Regions from separate parts of the Homo sapiens genome. Here regions 2, 3, 4, 5 and 6 are each linked to region 1. Evidence: promoter capture Hi-C in 16 types of primary human blood cells and fetal thymus (Javierre and others, 2016). All regions are on one chromosome and are shown on one strand. The core of a region is centred on a gene start or on the middle of the fragment in contact, and the rest is flanking DNA. Distances in the headings are between cores, read along the strand shown. Region 1 holds the start of CHRM5 (cholinergic receptor muscarinic 5). Region 2 has its middle 25 kb from the start of FMN1. Region 3 has its middle 44 kb from the start of FMN1. Region 4 has its middle 53 kb from the start of RYR3-DT. Region 5 has its middle 28 kb from the start of RYR3-DT. Region 6 has its middle 11 kb from the start of RYR3-DT.

Region 1 (2,887 bases), core at 115-2,614:
TAAAGATATGTTCTCTTGCATAAATATTCCTATTACAAATGTGTGTCAAAGACCACTATAAAACTAAAATTCACTTCTTTCTCATACATGTTCATCTGTCAGTGTTTAAAATTCTATTGGCTAACAATTAAAGTGTATACTTTGTCTGGATTCTCACTCAGAAAAAACCTACATAAAGACATAGTTTCTGAGACACAAGGAATTTAAAATGAACTGGATATTATATGACTCCAGAGGATTATAGCCAATGTGTTAGGTGTGATAATGGCACAGGGTCATGTGAAAAAGTGTCCATACTTTAAAAATATACATACTAAAGTACAAATAGGTGAAATGAGATTTGCTTTAAAATATTTTAGCAAAGAATTGAATCTGACAATTGTTGAATCTTGGTAATGAGTTTCTGGAGGTTCATGTATTATTTTTGTATTATTTTTCAGAGTTTTGTGTAAGTTTGAAATGTTCCATAATAATTTTTTAAAATTTAAAAACATTATATTGTCTAGATACACTCATAAAGAACTCAGGCAGGGAAAAAACGTTTAAATTTAAAATTTAAATTTTAAACTGAAGTGCAGTTTTAAAAATTTGAATTTTAAATTTAAAAACTGAAGTGCAAAAATTATGAAATTGACATTTAAAAATCTATTCTTTTATACAGCTAATATGGATTTCATCTAACTTAAGGAAAAGCTTTAATGAAGACCCTGTTAAAAGTTTGTATCAAATGAGGACTTATAATGCTTTACTCCAAAGCAACAAAACGCATATGCCCAAAAGATGTATAAAAACAGGCATACATTTAGGAAAAAAAAAAAAGGCAGCCTTTTCTCTGCTACAAATATTTAAAACTCACAGTATACTCTTTCTATCTCAAAGACTTTTAAAAATTATTTTCCATCTTTAGGGAAAACCATATGAGAAAATAACTCAGCAACATGTCTGTGAATAATGCCTAGCAAAGCTTAAAAAAAAAAAAAAAAAAAAAAAAAAGCTTCTAGCCAAAAAGACTAACAGGAAAAAATGAACATTTTCAAAAGCATTTTGGAACCTTATTCCAGCTACCTCCATGCTAAGCCCTCTTTTTCCTCCCAAAATACGTCACTTAACTGTCTGTCAAATAACTCTTGCCCATTCTACCTGATCACACTCTGAAGCTGCAGCTTTTCCTGGATTCTCTTCTCAATGACAAGCTGTTCAAACAGAGAACACCTATCAAAACGAATATCATCATCTGCTCCTTTCTTTCTTCCTTTCAGGATATACTGCTGTCCAGCAGGGGAAGTAATTAATGAGTTTTTTATGTATGGCAGCGTCATCCCATCAGTTTGCTGTCTGGTTTGAATAGCTCCTATCAGCTCTTCATTCATGCCAAGTACGCTCACCGTCCAGAGACATGATAAAGCCGTACTTCCTTCTGGATTTTTACCTCACTATTCAAAAAACAGGGTACCAGAAGCATGGGTTACAAAAGCATGAGGAGGACAGAAGAAATGCCTTCATCTTCTACAGAAAGGAAGCTGATGGACTGAAAAGTTCGTATGGAGAAAGGAAAGCAAGAGTGCAAGAACATCCATGCTTCTAGTCCAGATAATGTTTTTTAAAGCAGCTTGATTTGGAAGCGTGTGTAATTCTGAAATACGAACAAGCAGAACTTTTCCAGGGGGTCAAATGCATATAGGAACAACCAGGATTTCTCATTGCTGAAGCATTCAATGAATCTTTAATAAGTTCTCAACACTCAGATTGTTTGTGATCAGATCAACTGCTGTTACCAGATAAAGGCAAAACTCACCCTTCTGGTTCTATAATCCTATCCAAATGGAGTCTTCATCTACCGCATACTATCCTAACTAATGCTACAGGATTATCAGGAATACAGATATAAAGACACTGCAAGAAATAAAACACTGGCAAAATAAAACATGAAAGGAAAGTAGAGAAGGCATTTTGGGTCTCGAAGCTTACTATTTCCAGCCAGAGTTCAAATTACTGAGCTTCAAACAAACCACTGCCAGGTAAGATTTAATTTTATAACCTTAATTTATATCTTGTCTACTGAAATTAAATCTGCTCGTGCTGTGAATGAGATAGTGGATTTGAATTTCTTGCAACCCTTCCTTAAGCTTTTGCAGATTTAAGCTGAGGTAAACGCTTGTTTTTACTTATGCTGCATAAACAAGTCACTCAGAACTAGATAATAAAGCATCCAAAACTCCCATTCATTTTTCATTGAATTTGTCTCATCTTTGTCTTTATTTTTATCCCAATTTTGTTTTATTTAATAGCTTGAAAAAAATGCATGAAGAGAGCCCTGAATGGTGCATAAGAGCCATTCACAGATAATGTTTACCAACAATATTCAAATGAACTTAGTTTCCCAGAGTACTTGATAAAACAAAGAAAAATTAATAAGCATTTTAAATATTTTTATTCATATAAAGGAACAAAAGCTCAATGACTGATTTCTATTGTTACTAAGAAAAAAAAGCTGTGATGTCATTTCATTCATACTAAAGAAAAATAATCTCTACTAAATCGAGGTATAACACTCTTGTAGGATAGGGCTAATTTATCCTAAAGATACTAGACATTTTTATAACAGACTAAATGAAGACATTTTTCTGATTCAACAAGAGGATAAAAAGATGAAAGATGTCTGGTACCTTAAAACCTCAAAAGCTTTGACTCAGGTCAGTGGTCCAAACTGTAAAATGCAAAGCACTAGTGAAGCCATCAAAGGATTTTAAAAGATACAGTGCCTTTAAGAAATTCCCTAGAAATCACTGCATAATGAGACTTCTAGAGTGACAATCTTATGTAAAAACAACAAAACGTTATCATTTAGCAGAAATCCCAACCACATTGGTTTTCATGAGTTTCATTG
Region 2 (2,887 bases), core at 209-2,708, 750 kb before region 1:
CGCCTGTAATCCCAGCACTTTGGGAGGCCAAGGCGGGCGGATCACGAGGTCAGGAGATTGAGGCCATCCTGGCTAACACAGTGAAACCCCGTCTCTACTAAAAATACAAAAATATTAGCCGGCCGTGGTGGCAGGTGCCTGTAGTCCCAGCTACTCAGGAGGCTGAGGCAGGAGAATGTCATGAACCCAAGAGGCAGAGCTTGCAGTGAGCCAAGATCGTGCCACTGCACTCCAGCCTGGGTGACAGAGCAAGACTCCATCTCAAAAAAAAAAAAAAAAAAAAAAACAGACAAAGAAGGCCATCTTATAATGATAAATGGTTCAATTCAACAATAAATTTAACTATCCTAAATATGAATGCACCCGGCTGGGTGCAGTGACTCATGCCTGTAATCCCAGCACTTTTAGAGGCCAAGGCAGGTAGATCACTTGAGGTCAGGAGTTCAAGACCAGCCTGGCCAACATGGTGAAACCTCATCTCTACTAAAAATACAAAAATTAGTTGGGCGTGATTGTGTGCACCTGTAGTCCCATCTACTTGGGAGGCCTGAGGCAGGAGAATTGCTTGAACCTGGGAGGCGGAGGTTGCAGTTAGCTGAGATCACCCCACTGTACTCCAGCCTGGGCTACAGAGCGAGACTCTGTCTCAAAAAAAAAAAAAAAAAAATTGCACCCAACATCAGAGCAGTCAAATTTATAAAACAAATACTACTAGACCTAAGAAAGGGGATAGACGGTCATGCAATAGTAGTGGAGGACTGTAACACACCACTGACAGCAGTAGACAGATCATTGAGGCAAAAAACTAACAAAGAAATTCTGGACTTAAATTGGGCTCCTGACCAAATGGACTTAATAGACATCTACAGAATACTACACTCAATAACCACAGAATGCACATTTTTCTCATTTGCACGTGGAACATTCTCTAAAATTGACCACATGCTGAGTCATAAAGCAAATCTCAATAAATTAAAAACAACCAAAATCATGTCAAGCATCTTCTCAGACCACAGTGGTATAAAATTGGAAATCAATAAGAGGAACTCTCGGCTGGGTGTGGTGGCTCACACCTGTAATCCCAGCACTTTGGGAGGCCGAGGCAGGCGGATCACCTGAGGTCGGGAGTTTGAAACCAGTCTGACCAAGCTGGAGAAATCCGTCTCTATGAAAAATCCAAACATTAGCCAGGCATGGTGGTGCATGCCTGTAATCCCAGCTACCTGGAAGGCTGAGACAGGAGAATCACTGGAACCCGGGAGGCGGAGATTGTGGTGAGCTGAGATCGCGCCATTGCACTCCAGCCTGGGCAACAAGAGCGAAACTCCGTCTGAAAAACAAACAAACAAAAAAAGGAACTCTCAGACCACTCAAGTACATGGAAACTAAACAACTTGCTTCTGAATAACTTTTGGGTAAACAAAAAAATTAAGGCAGAAATTTTATACAGAAATTAATTCAAGATGGATTAAAGACTTAAATGTCAGACCTAAAACCATAAAAACCCCAGAAGAAAACCTAGGCAATACCATTCAGGACATAGGCATGGGCAAGGACTTCATGGCTAAAACACCAAAAGCAATGGCAACAAAAGCCAAAATAGACAAATGGGATCTAGTTAAGCTAAAGAGCTTCTGCACAGCAAAAGAAACTACCATCAGAGTGAACAGGCAACCTACAGAATGGGAGAAAATTTTTGCAATCTACCCATCTGACAAAGGGCTAATATCCAGAATCTACAAAGAACTTAAACAAATTTACAAGAAAAAATCAAACTACCCCATCAAAAAGTGGGCAAAGGAGATGAACAGACACTTCTCAAAAGAAGACATTTATGCAGCCAACAGACACATGAAAAAATGCTCATCATCACTGGCCATCAGAGAAATGCAAATCAAAACCACAATGAGATACCATCTCATGCCAGTTAGAATGGCGATCATTAAAAAGTCAGGAAACAACAGGTGCTGGAGAGGATGTGAAGAAATAGGAACACTTTTACACTGTTGGAGGGACCGTAAACTACTTCAACCATTGTGGAAGACAGTGTGGCGATTCCTCAAGGATCTAGAACTAGAAATACCATTTGACCCAGCCATCCCATTACTGGGTATATACCCAAAGGATTATAAATCATGCTGCTATAAAGACACATGCACATATATGTTTATTGTGGCACTATTCACGATAGCAAAGACTTGGAACCAACCCAAATGTCCATCAATGATAGACTGGATTAAGCAAATGTGGCACATACACACCATGGAATACTATGCAGCCATAAAAAAGGATGAGTTCATGTCCTTTGTAGGGACATGGATGAAGCTGGAAACCATTCTGAGCAAACTGTCACAAGGACAGAAAACCAAACACCGCATGCTCTCACTCATAGGTGGGAATTGAATAATGAGAACACGTGGACACAGGAAGGGGAACATCACACACCAGGGCCTGTTGTGGGGTGGGGGTAGGGGGTAGGGATAGCATTAGGAGATATACCTAATGTAAATGATGAGTTAATGGGTGTAGCACACCAACATAGCACATGTATACATATGTAACAAACCTACACATTGTACACATGTACCCTAGAACTTAATGTATAATAATAATTTAAAAAAAAGAAAAAAGTTTGAAGTAAGTGAAAAGAGAGACACAACATACCTCTGGGATTCTCTGGGATACAGTGAAAGCAGTGTTAAGAGGAAAGTTTATGGTGCTAAATCCCTACATCAAAAAGATATAAATGTCCAAATTAACAACCTAATGCCACACCTAAAAGAACTAGAAAAACAAGAATAAACCAAACCCAAAGGTAGCAGAAGAAATGAAAAAACAAAGATCATAACAGAACTAAATGAAAGTAAGACAAAAAAATAAAAAAGAT
Region 3 (2,887 bases), core at 213-2,712, 730 kb before region 1:
GAGAGAGAGAGAGAGAGAGAAGCTAGGAGAGGGAAGGGATAGAGGAAAACCCAGGTTTGGAATAGGAAAAACTGGCCATGTTTCTTTGGGTGGTGTCTGCCAAAATTGATCCCGGTTTCACTGTTTGAGAGGAGTCATCCTGGGCTTTGGATCTAGGTAAGAGATCAGAGCCAAGAATTAGGTAACATAATCTGAGAGGCTGATGAAAGGTGCTTTCCTAAGTTACGCGGTATCTACGATTCATATCCTAGACTCTTACTAACATTCACAATGCTCAACATTTAAAATCCATAATTGCTAAACTTATAAAGAACCAGGAAAATGTGATTCATTTTTAAAAGAAGACAATCAATGAAAACTAAGCTGGATATAACCCTGATGTTGGATTCAAACTGCAGTTTGTGTCTTGGTGGCAGCTCAAGTTTCAGTTGTGGTCTTATGTCCTCAGCTGGGCTGCTCACACATTGCCCTGAGCATGCATGGTTTGGAAGTCCAGTCAGAGATTCAGGTATAGTTTAGACACAGATTTAGGAACTCCCCATGTCTGACTCTCTACTTTTTCCCCAGTATCTTTGGCTGCCTCAAACTCTTTATTCTCTATTTTGTTAGTCCAAAAAGACTATAGGTTTTCTCTGCTGGTGCATCTTACACACCCAGTTTGGTCTTTCTTCAGGCTAGAAACTATAAAAATAGGGGAAATAATGCCCATCATTCTCTTTTTCCAAGTGCCAGATCCCTTCCAGAATCTGCTTGCTTTTATTCACTCGCCAATACCTTCTGTTCATTGTTTGTTCATTTGTTTTATTTTGTTTTGTTATCCTAAGTTTCATTTTATGCAATAGGATTGAGTCCATTAATGGAAATGCCTGTAAATAATACCAGCAAATAATGCCTGCAAATGCTTGCAAATAATTCAATAAAGCAAGAAAAAGAAATAAAAAGATAAAGACTGAAAAGGAAAAAGTACAATTGTTATTATTTATAGTTGAGAAGCTAAAAGAAATTTTTAGAATAGGTGAATTTAGTGAGATTAATGATACAAGTTCAATATATAGAAACCAATTGTATTTCTATGCACTAACAGTAATCAATTAAAAAATCAAGGCTGGCATGTTGGCTCACACCTGCAATCCTAGCACTTTGGGAGGCCAAGGTGGGAGGATCGCTTAAGCCCAGGAGTTTGAGACCAGCCTGGGCAACATAGTGGGACCCTGTCTCTATTTTATTTTATTATTTTATTTTTATTTTTTGAGATGGAGTTTCGCTCTGTCACCCAGGCTGGAGTACAGTGGCATAACCTCCTCCTCCCGGGTTCAAGCAATTCTCCTGCCTCAGCCTCCCAAGTAGCTGGGACTACAGGCATGTGCCACCACACCTGGCTTTTTTATTTTTTTTATTTTTTTATTTTTAGTAGAGACAGAGTTTCACCATGTTAGTCAGGCTGGTCTCGAACTCCTGACCTCAGGTAATCCACCTGCCTCAGCTTCCCAAAGTGCTGGGATTCCAGGCATGAGCCACCACACCTGGCCACCGTCTCTATTTTATTTTTAATATTAATAAAAAAAGAAAATCAAATTAACACAGCATTCACAGTTGCATTAAAAATATTAAATACCTAGGAATAAATCTGATGGAAAGTGTATAAGAACACCACACAGAAAACTGTAAAACGTTATTTTGAGAAATTAAATATCTAAATAAACGAAGGGATAAAGATATCATGGTGTGTGAAACTATTGTTTATTTTTATTATTCTTTTTGAGATAGCATCTCACTCGGTGGTCCAGGCTGGAATACAGTGGTGCAATATATCTCACTTTTACCTCAACCTCCTGGGCTCAAACCATCCTCCTGCCTCAGCCTCCTGAGTAGCTAGGACTATAGGCACACACAACCATGCCCAGATAATTTGTTTTATTTTTTGTAGAGATAGAGTCTTGCTATGTTGCCCAGGCTAGTCTCGATCTCCTGGCCTCAATAGAACCTCCCCCGCCCCACAGTCTCCCAAAACACTGACATTACAGGCATGAGCCACAGCACCTGGCCATGGAAAATTATTGTTTAGATACTAATTATCCTCTCACTTTATCTATAGATTCCATGTAACTCCAATCAACATCTCAGCAAGGTTTTTTGTTTTTGTTTTGGTAGAAGTTGAAAAACCGATTTTAAAATTTATATAGAAATTCAAGGGGCCAAGAAAGCCAAGATAATCGTGCAGAATTTAAGCTACCATATCAATACTAATTATAAAGCTATAATAATTAGTGTAGTTTTGGCACAAGGATAGGAACAGAGACTAATTGTACAGAATAAAGCATCCAGAAACACTCACACATATATGGTCACCAGACATAAAATAAGACACCACTGCAAATGAATAGTATCTTCAATAAATTGTGCTGGATCAATTGGATATCCATATGGAAAAAAAACCCCACAAATTTTAATCTCTACCTCACACCACAGAAAAGAAAATAAATTCCAAAAGAATGTAAACCTGAGTAAAAGGTAAATGATAAAAAATTCTAGGGGAAACCACAGAGAGTAGTTTTATGACCTCTAAAAGGCAGAAAGCAAAAAAGAATGGATTGACACATTTCACAGATTAGATTTTTTTCTAAATTAATAACTATTGTTTATCCAAAATGTCATTAAGAAAGTAAAAAAGGAAAGCCTCAGAATAGACTATAATACACACATTTGACAAAGGATCTTATGAAAAAAATAAGGAACTCCTACAAATCAATTAGAAAAAGACTAACCATCTCACAGATGCAGGCGAAAGACATGTCACAAAAGAGGACATTCAAATTTCCAAACTGTGTGAAAAGCTGTAAGACATCATTATTAATCAGCAATAAAATGCACATAAAATATCATTATT
Region 4 (2,887 bases), core at 220-2,719, 710 kb before region 1:
GGGATGTAAATTGGCATGATAACCAAGGAAAACGATTTGGAGAAAACAACCACTTTGCAAAAGCACTTTTGTAAATTTGTAAATAGCAAAATAGAACTTGTACCTGTCCTACAAGACATCAATCTCTCTATACAAAGTACCCTGAAAATACTCTTGCACTTATACCCCAGAAGAGAGTGTACAATAATTTTTGCTCTGCATTGTTAGTAATAGCAAAACACGGGAAGCAACCCAAATGTCCATAAACAGTAGAATGGAGAAATAACAGACACACAATAGAAGAAATAATTTATAATCGTAGTCAATAACATACAGGAATCTCTCAATCATAATGTTGATCAAAAGAGGTAGATCACAGAAGAATGTACATATTCTAATTCAAGACATACAAAGTACAAAATAGAGTAAACAAAATGTTTTAGTGCAGTGGTCCCCAACCTTTTTGGCACCAGGGACCGGTTTCATGGAAGACAATTTTTCCACGGGGTGCAAGGGTGGGGGAATGGTTTCAGGAGGAAACTGCTCTACCTCAGATCATCATGCATTAGATTCTAATAAGGAGGGTGCAACCTAGATCCCTCGCATGCGCAGTTCACAGTAGGGTTTGCACTCTTATGAGAATCTAATGCCACCGCTGATCTGACAGGAGCCGGAGCTCAAGCGGTAAAGCTCGCTTAAGCGGTAAAGCTCGCTCCAGCCGCTCACCTCCTGCTGTGCAGCCTGGTTCCTAACAGGCTATGGACCTGCACTGGTCTGCAGCCAGGGGCTAGGAACCCTTGTTTTAGGGTAGTTTTGTAGGTGATAAACTTACAAAAAAAAAGAAAGGGCATAATTATCACAAAATTCATAATGGTTAGCATTCTGGAGAAGAGAGGGCTTTGTAGATTCTGTGAGTGGCACAAAATGTGGCCCTTTTGCTTCCAGTGTCCAGATACAAGGAGGCCTGGTTCTCTTGGAACTCATGCTTTGAGGGTGCCCAAGTAGCTCATGGAAAGGAATCAAGACTTGGGTCTGAAAAAGCATTCTGGCAATAGCCAGTACCAACTTCCCAGCTATGTGAGTGAGAAATCTTGAAGGTAGGTCCTCCAGTCTAAGAGCTCCAGCTAATACTTTATAAGCAAAATAGTAGTTGTTCCCACAAAGCCATCCCAAATTGTAGGTTTGTGGGGAGAAAAAGTTTGTACTTGGTTTAAGCCTCTAAGTTTTGCGTGTGGTTTGTTGTTATATAGCTTGCAGATAAGCAGCAGGCTGCCTAACCCTTAAGTGTCACATGCGGAAGAGGCAAGGAACCAGGAGCAAAGTGTTCAAAATTCTTTCAGATTTTTTTTTCTTTTAAAAAGAGTTCCCAGGCTGGGCGTGGTGGCTCACGCCTGTAATCCCAGCACTTTGGGAGGCCAAGGTGGGCGGATCACAAAGTCAGGAGATCGAGACCATCCTGGCTAACATGGTGAAACGCCGTCTCTACTAAAAATACAAAAATTAGCCAGGCATGGTGGCGGGCGTCTGTAGTCCCAGCTGCTGGGGAGGCTGAGGCACGAGAATGGCATGAACCCGGGAGGCGGAGCTTGCAGTGAGCCGAGATGGCGCCACTGCACTCCAGCCTGGACGACAGAGCGAGACTCCGTCTCAAAAAAAAAAAAAAGAGTTTCCAGTTTGAAGTTACTACAACTGTACAGTGAAGGAACCTGACCAGAATAAGTTAGACAGGACTCTTTACATCTCCTGGACCTCATAAGCAAGAAACAGCAGCCATGCCTAAAAGGTCCTATCTTAAAAAGCCTGACTGTCATCCCAGGCCCAAAGCACTGGCTAGAGAGCTTTGCTGGACGAGTCCTTCAACCTCCTGCCCTCCATGCTAGTCCTTCACACTGAAGATGACATCTCGTCTTGGTCTTGCTTCTCTCACTTGTAGTGACAGTCTTCCAGCCCTGCTGTGCTCTCAACCTGAGTGCCTAACTCTAGCTAGTTGAAACTGGGGCTTGAAAATGTGAAACATTCAGCAGGAACTTCTCTGATACAGACCTAAAATCAACAAAAGCAGTCACAGCCATCATGCCCAAGATCAATCCAACTCCACAAAAGTCAGTACACAAAAAACCTAAGTCCAGAAACTGTCCCAGGAAAATAAAAGCTACCATATGAGAAATTTCCCAAATGTAGGTTAGGGTTTTCTCCCATAGGTCCACAGAGGCCCCCTGACAGCCATAGAAAGAGCTGTCAATCTTTTCTAAAATTTATTAGCAACTCTTTCATTTTCTCAGGTACACCTCGGGAATAATTTGAAGAGTTAATTGAAACTGATATGTTGTAATTAGGGACTTATGGTTTCCCTAGAGTTTAGGGCCAATAGCTACAGAATCTTATTAGAGAATTTAATTAATGTATTTCCTCTACATTTCTACTGACTAGGAGGGAAACCAGAACAGTGATGAAAGACTTTTCATAAAAATAAAAGAAGTTAGGTAAATTACCATTTCTAAGCCTCAGTATAAAAGAAAAATACTCTTTTAATGCAATCTTGTTAACCTAAATAGGTTAAAATGCTTCTCTATGCTTTTTTTTTTTTTAAAATTGCCATTTCTATTTTAAGATAAATTAAGACTCAAAAGGATATTCCAGCTTTTGGTGAAATTAGTTTGTCAAGGATTTGGAAAAAATATAATCTTGATTATAAGGGGCAAATGGAATGAAGACTATCTTAGCTAAGAGACAACTTGAGAAAAAACTACATTAGTGTGAGATTACTCAAAGAGGGCATAATATTTCACAAAGTTCTCTTCATTCTGTAATAATAAACATTAAAGTTAATGTGCCAAAATACATCCCCATCAATCTACAAAATGTCCCCAAATAGAGATGCATTAATTAGCAGTAAATACTTTTGCAT
Region 5 (2,887 bases), core at 185-2,684, 690 kb before region 1:
GCACTCTTGGCTCACTTCAACCTCTGTCCTCCTAGGTTCAAGTGATTCTCCCACCTCAGCCTCCTCGGTAGCTGGGACTACAGGGGCACGCCACCATGCCAGGCTAATTTTTGTATTTTTTTTTTTGTTAGAGGTGGGGTTTCACCATGTTGGCCAGGCTGGTCTTGAATGCCAGACCTCAAATGATCTGCCTGCCTTGGCCTCCCAAAGTGCTGGGATTGCAGTCGTGAGCCACCATGCCTGGCCTCCCTTTTTTATTTTTTAAGTGAAAAAAGAAACATCTCTCAGTGTAAGAGCTAATCTTTCACCTAGCTTTGGAAGCTTATTGTGCCAAAAAGTTATCTGCCTCCTTATCTGGATTGACAGTACCGAGTTGTCTCCTATGAGCTGCAGTTGCCCTTGCTCAATCTAGTTGTAGGTTTCAATTTTCCCTTACCAGCTTGACTGAAGCTGGCTGATGATAGAAGATTAGAGACCCTCTTACTCACCTCTCTTGCTTGCAGGTGAGAAAACAGCGACCCAGGCAGATTCTATGACTTGTAGTCTGCCAAATAATTAGTGAAAAAACCAGACTAGAACCCAGATCTGTAGGCTCCTAGTTCCCAGTCTAACAGACAGTTATACCAGATACTTCTCATCTCAAATTTTCTGACCTTTTATATGAAATTGGAGCCACTGACCTGTCATTAACAATGGTTATAAGCTCAGTGGTTGTATAGAGCAATGGTTCATTTTGATTGCTCAAAAAATGTCTTTTGATCACAGTCTGAAAGAGAATTCCTCTTCACAAGGCTTTCTTTGAAGGAGCATTTTTTTTAATCCCTCTAGGGTTGTAAATTCTGTGGGCCCACAGGCCCCTTTCTGCCCAGTCTCACCCTGTTGCCTCTAGCACTAGATGGGAAGCACAAGTATATGTGAAGAGTCCTCCTGTGACCAGTGACATGAGTGAGAAGGACGCCTTTGTTAAGCCTGCAGTGAAATCTGTGGCCTTGGAATAGAATAGAGCTGCACACTGGAATTTGGACAAAAACTTGAATTTCACCCTCAAAAGCTACCAACCCTCTGGCCTAGTGTAGCTCAGTGTTCCTTCTGTTAGAGTATTTTCTTCTTGCTGCCACAGTTGTAATGCAGATTCCCTCATGTGGAAAGCTACCTGGATGGGAACATTATCCACTTAACGAATGTATACTGGGAGTTGGCTAGTTACCAGGAACGAAGGGACCAATGATGCATTCAACTGACGTGCTACCTGCCTTTGGGGAGTTAGAGGGCAGTGAGGGTGCCCACCCCTGGACAGGTGAGTGTAGCAGGCCATGTGGTAGGCAGCAGAGAGAGGAAGAGGGCACTGTGGCAGTACTAGGGGATACATAACTCCAGCTAGGAGGGGGAAGTCGTTGGGGAGAGCTTCCCAGAGGATGTGAATGGAAGGATGAGAAGCAGTTGGCCCGTGAAGACCACAGGGTTTGGAGGTGTGAGGAGATTTATTACAAAAGAGGGAATGGCACATGGAAAGTCATGGAAGTTGGTAATAACCCAGGGTTTCTTTTCTCTTTCTTTCTTTTTCTTTTCTTTTTTTTTTTTTTGAGATGGAGTTTCACTTTTTTGCCCAGGCTGGAGTGAAGCCGTGCGATTTCGGCTCACTGCAACCTCCACCCCCTGGGTTCAAGTGATTCTCCTAACTCATTCTCCCAAGTAGCTGGGATTATAGGCACCCGCCACCACGCCCGGCTAATTTTTGTATTTTTAGTAGAGACGGGGTTTCACCATGTTGGCCAGGCTGGCCTCAAACTCCTGACCTCAAGTGATCTGCCTGCCTCAACCTCCTAAGGTGCTGGGATTACAGGCGTGACCCACCGCACCCGGCCCAGAGTTTCTTTTACTTAATGAAACCACAGAGTATTGCTTGTTTTTTTACAAATGTTTACAGAGGTACACTGCAGCCTATCCTGATCCCCACAACTGAAACCCAGAAATAAAATATGTAGCATTTGTCACTTCGTGGGCATGCAATTAAGCAGAATTTCATTTCTGATGTTACTAATAGCATTTCTAATAAGCTCAGCTGTACATCGACTTTTAGATATTACTAACTTGAGAGCTTTTTTCCCCATAAGACAATTATATTCAAATTGCTAAATGCTGATTTAAAAAGAAAGTCGCAGCAATTACTGTGATCTATTATACTACAGAGAGGTCCTATTGTATTAGGGATATTTACCACTGGGCTTTTTGTTTTTATTGTGTGCCATTATAATAGACTTTTGTCTCCTCTCTTCCTGTCAGAAAGTCAGCTTTCCCATCTGACTGATATTGGTGTTCCTGACCATAGCACTCCATCTCTTCTCCTCCAATCAGATGTGGGCTTTGCAAACCATATTATCATGTGTGTTAGAAGTGCATATGATATAAAATCACATTGATTTTGAGTGAGGAGCTCTTCTCTGAGTAATACATTTCTGTTCATGGGCATCAACGTTGGGGGCCTTCATGATTTTCACTATTCTCAATCATTTCCCCTTCTTTCTTTTCAGTTGTGTTCTAAAGAGGAAAGCTTTCTGAATAACTGAATTTCATGTAGATGAGGACCTTTATGCTCTGAATACAGAATATAAAATCTCATGTCTATTTCCTGTTTTGCAGGCCTGTAAACATTAGTGGGGATGTAAGCAGCAGGTTATACCCATGATGGGTCATGGTTGTAGGCAAGGTGGCCAGAAACCATATTATTCGCAGAATAAGAGTAGCTTACAAGGGAGGCCTTAGAGGCCAGAAAAGCCAAAGTTCAGTTCCAAAGAAGGCTTTATAAGCCTCAGACTCAAGGGGTGAATCAAAACCTGAAAACCAAAACCAAATAGGCAAGAGATTGGTGAACTGTCTTTTTTTTTTT
Region 6 (2,887 bases), core at 240-2,739, 670 kb before region 1:
CAAAAAGATTTCCAAAGTATTTGGAAAATATCTTCCACAGATATCTTTTCCCATTTGTTCTTTTTATCACTTTGTGATTTTTACCCAAGGATTTTCAGTGCCTGGTCAGGGAGTTACCTACTAAAAAAAATAGACAGGACGTCTGGCCTCAGAGACTGGCGAGGAATCACTTAAATGGAATGCTGAGCAGAGACTGCACCTGCCCTGTCATTGATCTACTCCAGAATCTTGCAGTGCTTTTGCCTCAAGGGATTCTGACTGGGCTGCAGGGAATGGAGGTGTCAGACCAAACTGAAGGGTCATTATTGGTCATGTCTCTTCCCTTAACTGTACATCAAGGCTAATATTTCACCCTCTCTACTTTTCTTTCTTTCTTTCTTTTTTGAGACGGAGTCTCCCTCTGTCGCCCAGGCAGGAGTGCAGTGGCGCGATCTTGGCTCACTGCAAGCTCCGCCTCCGGGGTTCACGCCATTCTCCTGCCTCAGCATCCCGAGTAGCTGGGACTACAGGCGCCCGCCACCACACCTGGCTAATTTTTTGTATTTTTAGTAGAGACGGGGTTTCACCATGTTAGCCAGGATGGTCTCGATCTCTTGACCTCGTGATCCGCCCGCCTCTGCCTCCCAAAGTGCTGGGACTACAGGCGTGAGCCACCGCGCCCGGCTTACCCTCTCTACTTTCTAAGCTGTCTTTTTAGGAATGAATGAATGAATGAATGAATGCCTCAATGATATCATTAACACATCTGTTATGACGAGAGGAAGCTTCAGGTAATGAGTATATTTGATTTTTTAAAAACCTGCCAAAAGGTAACAGATGGAATGTTAAGTAATAGCTAAATAAGCCTTGCAATTTGGCAGAAATGGGCCTGAACTCAGAGTTCAAGGAATTCTTCTACTTCTAGAGATCCAAGAATGCCATAAATGTACCGTCTGTTGACCAAGGCAGGGAAGCCGTCACTCAAGTGGATTTCAATCTATTCTCATTTGTCCCTTCCCAAACTGCTCTCCATAAGCTTGCAGCAGTTGCTGTGTAGCCTTAGAAGTAGTATCCATAGCTGTGTTGATAATGAGGAAGAATAATCAACCTCTAAATACAAGTGCTTTGGATCAATCTGTAGGATCTAATTTGACTATCTCAAATCTAAAGTAATTAAAAGAGTGTTTTTTTCTTCTCTGCTTGAACTGGAGACATTAAAGCATAGTGATTTGGTTTGGCTTTAAAATTAGATAGACTAGGGTTTAAATCCCAGTTTAGCTGAGAACCCTTAGGGAGATTTCTTTTTTGTTTGTTTGTTTTTTGAGACAGAGTCTCGCTCTGTCGCCCAGGCTGGAGTGCAGTGGTGCAACCTCGGCCCACTGCAAGCTCCGCCTCCCGGGTTCACACCATTCTCCTGCCTTAGCCTCCCGAGTAGCTGGGACTACAGGTGCCTGCCACCACGCCCGGCTAATTTTTTGTAGTTTTAGTAGAGATGGGGTTTCACCGTGTTAGCCAGGATGGTCTCGATCTCCTGACCTCGTGATCCGCCCGCCTCAGCCTCCCAAAGTGCTGAGATTACAGGCGTGAGCCACCGCGCCTGGCCGAGAACCCTTAGGGAGATTTCTTAACCCTTACTCTCAGTCTCCTCATCTGTAAAATGGCAGTAAAAATGCCTACTTCACAGGGTTGTTGATAGCTATTATCATGACATGAGAGAGAATATTTAACATGGAAGGGCAGGGCAGGGATAGAGAGAGGATGAAAGCTGGATCTACCTCTGGAAGTGATGATTTTTGAAGAACGGCATTGCCACTCAGTAAAGCACTTTGCCTAGTCCAGCATAACTGAGGGGTTGCATGAAGCAGCAGTCCCGGCCCCAGGCCTTCCACATGACAACCAGCATCTCAATCAGGGGAGCTCTCGGGCCCAATCATTGTATCTTTGCCTCTGTTCTGCGAGCCTAAAAAGAAATCATCCCATAGGGCTAAGCTTAATCTTGTTTACTCATGGGAGCTCCTTCTGACCACCTCAGCCAGTGGTAGTCTCCCTGGACACTCAACTTCTACTCCACTCCCTGGACACTCAACTTGCATTGCTGCTTACTTTACTGTACTATGTTCATATTTTGTCTTTGAAACTAAGCTGCAGTTCCTTGAGAGAGGTAGATTTTTATCTTATTTGAATCACTGCCAGTGATAGTATACTCATTACCTGAAGCTTCCTTTCCTTATAACAGGTGTGTTAAATATACCATTTTTATGTTCTTTGAATCACTCCCAGTATTCACAAATGCTAAGAACTGTGCTCCCCAAATTGGTCTGCGAATCCCTAGGGTTCTGTAGAGCTGAGTCAGGTACCTCACCTACTATGAGATCACTGGGCACCCAGTGCCAAATCCTGGGACCCCCATCCACATCTCTCCCTGCAGCTTCAGCCGGAATAGCCTGTTTTCATAGGTTTTGCCTTTGGTTGTCAGTGGTGATGATGACGATGGCATATTTATTGAACATTGGGTTTCCTCCCATTGTTGGGTATTTGGCAGCCCAATTTCCAACTGCCCAAGGGCTTTCTCTGGCAGCTGGAGCAGGCTGAAGGTGCCAGAGAATTAACACCCTGGGAGCAGCCTTCACCCAGTGACTGACCGGAGTTAGCGTGTAAATACCCCAGCTTCCTTGTTTTTCTGAGGGTGACTCTGAAGTGCATGTTCCTCACTAGTTCCCAGAGTTCCCCAGTGAGACTGGGCTCCTCATGCACAGTGGTAACCTGCTTGATAACTTGCTCCTTACTGGCTTCCTTCCCTTTCCTGTCTCACTTTCTCACTCTTACTGGTACTTTCTGGGATCATCTCCGAAATCAGGGTCTGCTTTTGGAGAAACCAGACAGTAAATCAGCATCCATCTGCTCATTG

What was found. The method cuts DNA at HindIII sites, captures the fragments that hold promoters and counts their contacts. A CHiCAGO score of 5 or more calls a contact.
Region 2: a contact is called between a fragment that was not itself captured here and the fragment with the promoter of CHRM5 in region 1, in 3 of 17 cell types (M2 macrophages, megakaryocytes and erythroblasts). The highest score is 8.6, in M2 macrophages.
Region 3: a contact is called between a fragment that was not itself captured here and the fragment with the promoter of CHRM5 in region 1, in 3 of 17 cell types (megakaryocytes, erythroblasts and M0 macrophages). The highest score is 8.8, in megakaryocytes.
Region 4: a contact is called between a fragment that was not itself captured here and the fragment with the promoter of CHRM5 in region 1, in 1 of 17 cell types (erythroblasts). The highest score is 5.7, in erythroblasts.
Region 5: a fragment that was not itself captured here is called in contact with the fragment with the promoter of CHRM5 in region 1 in 6 of 17 cell types (erythroblasts, endothelial precursors, megakaryocytes and 3 more); the score reaches 10.1 in erythroblasts.
Region 6: a fragment that was not itself captured here is called in contact with the fragment with the promoter of CHRM5 in region 1 in 4 of 17 cell types (megakaryocytes, erythroblasts, M0 macrophages and 1 more); the score reaches 9.7 in megakaryocytes.

What each region holds. Positions count from the first base shown.
Region 1 is chr15:33,967,133-33,970,019 of GRCh38, forward strand. It overlaps CHRM5 (cholinergic receptor muscarinic 5), which reads left to right and starts at 1,365. Exons shown (of 3, transcript NM_012125.4): 1 at 1,365-2,018. All of the region lies in intron 2 of AVEN (apoptosis and caspase activation inhibitor), which reads right to left. The HindIII fragment of the contact is 969 bases long and covers 993-1,961 here.
Region 2 is chr15:33,218,753-33,221,639 of GRCh38, forward strand. No RefSeq gene overlaps it. Among named protein-coding and RNA genes, the nearest start is that of FMN1, 25 kb to the left of the region's middle. The HindIII fragment of the contact is 4,772 bases long and covers 1-2,887 here.
Region 3 is chr15:33,236,847-33,239,733 of GRCh38, forward strand. It overlaps the pseudogene TMCO5B. Among named protein-coding and RNA genes, the nearest start is that of FMN1, 44 kb to the left of the region's middle. RefSeq lists a silencer at 1,379-1,548. The HindIII fragment of the contact is 6,436 bases long and covers 1-2,887 here.
Region 4 is chr15:33,256,405-33,259,291 of GRCh38, forward strand. No RefSeq gene overlaps it. Among named protein-coding and RNA genes, the nearest start is that of RYR3-DT, 53 kb to the right of the region's middle. The HindIII fragment of the contact is 7,151 bases long and covers 1-2,887 here.
Region 5 is chr15:33,281,553-33,284,439 of GRCh38, forward strand. No RefSeq gene overlaps it. Among named protein-coding and RNA genes, the nearest start is that of RYR3-DT, 28 kb to the right of the region's middle. The HindIII fragment of the contact is 2,230 bases long and covers 320-2,549 here.
Region 6 is chr15:33,298,618-33,301,504 of GRCh38, forward strand. No RefSeq gene overlaps it. Among named protein-coding and RNA genes, the nearest start is that of RYR3-DT, 11 kb to the right of the region's middle. The HindIII fragment of the contact is 953 bases long and covers 1,014-1,966 here.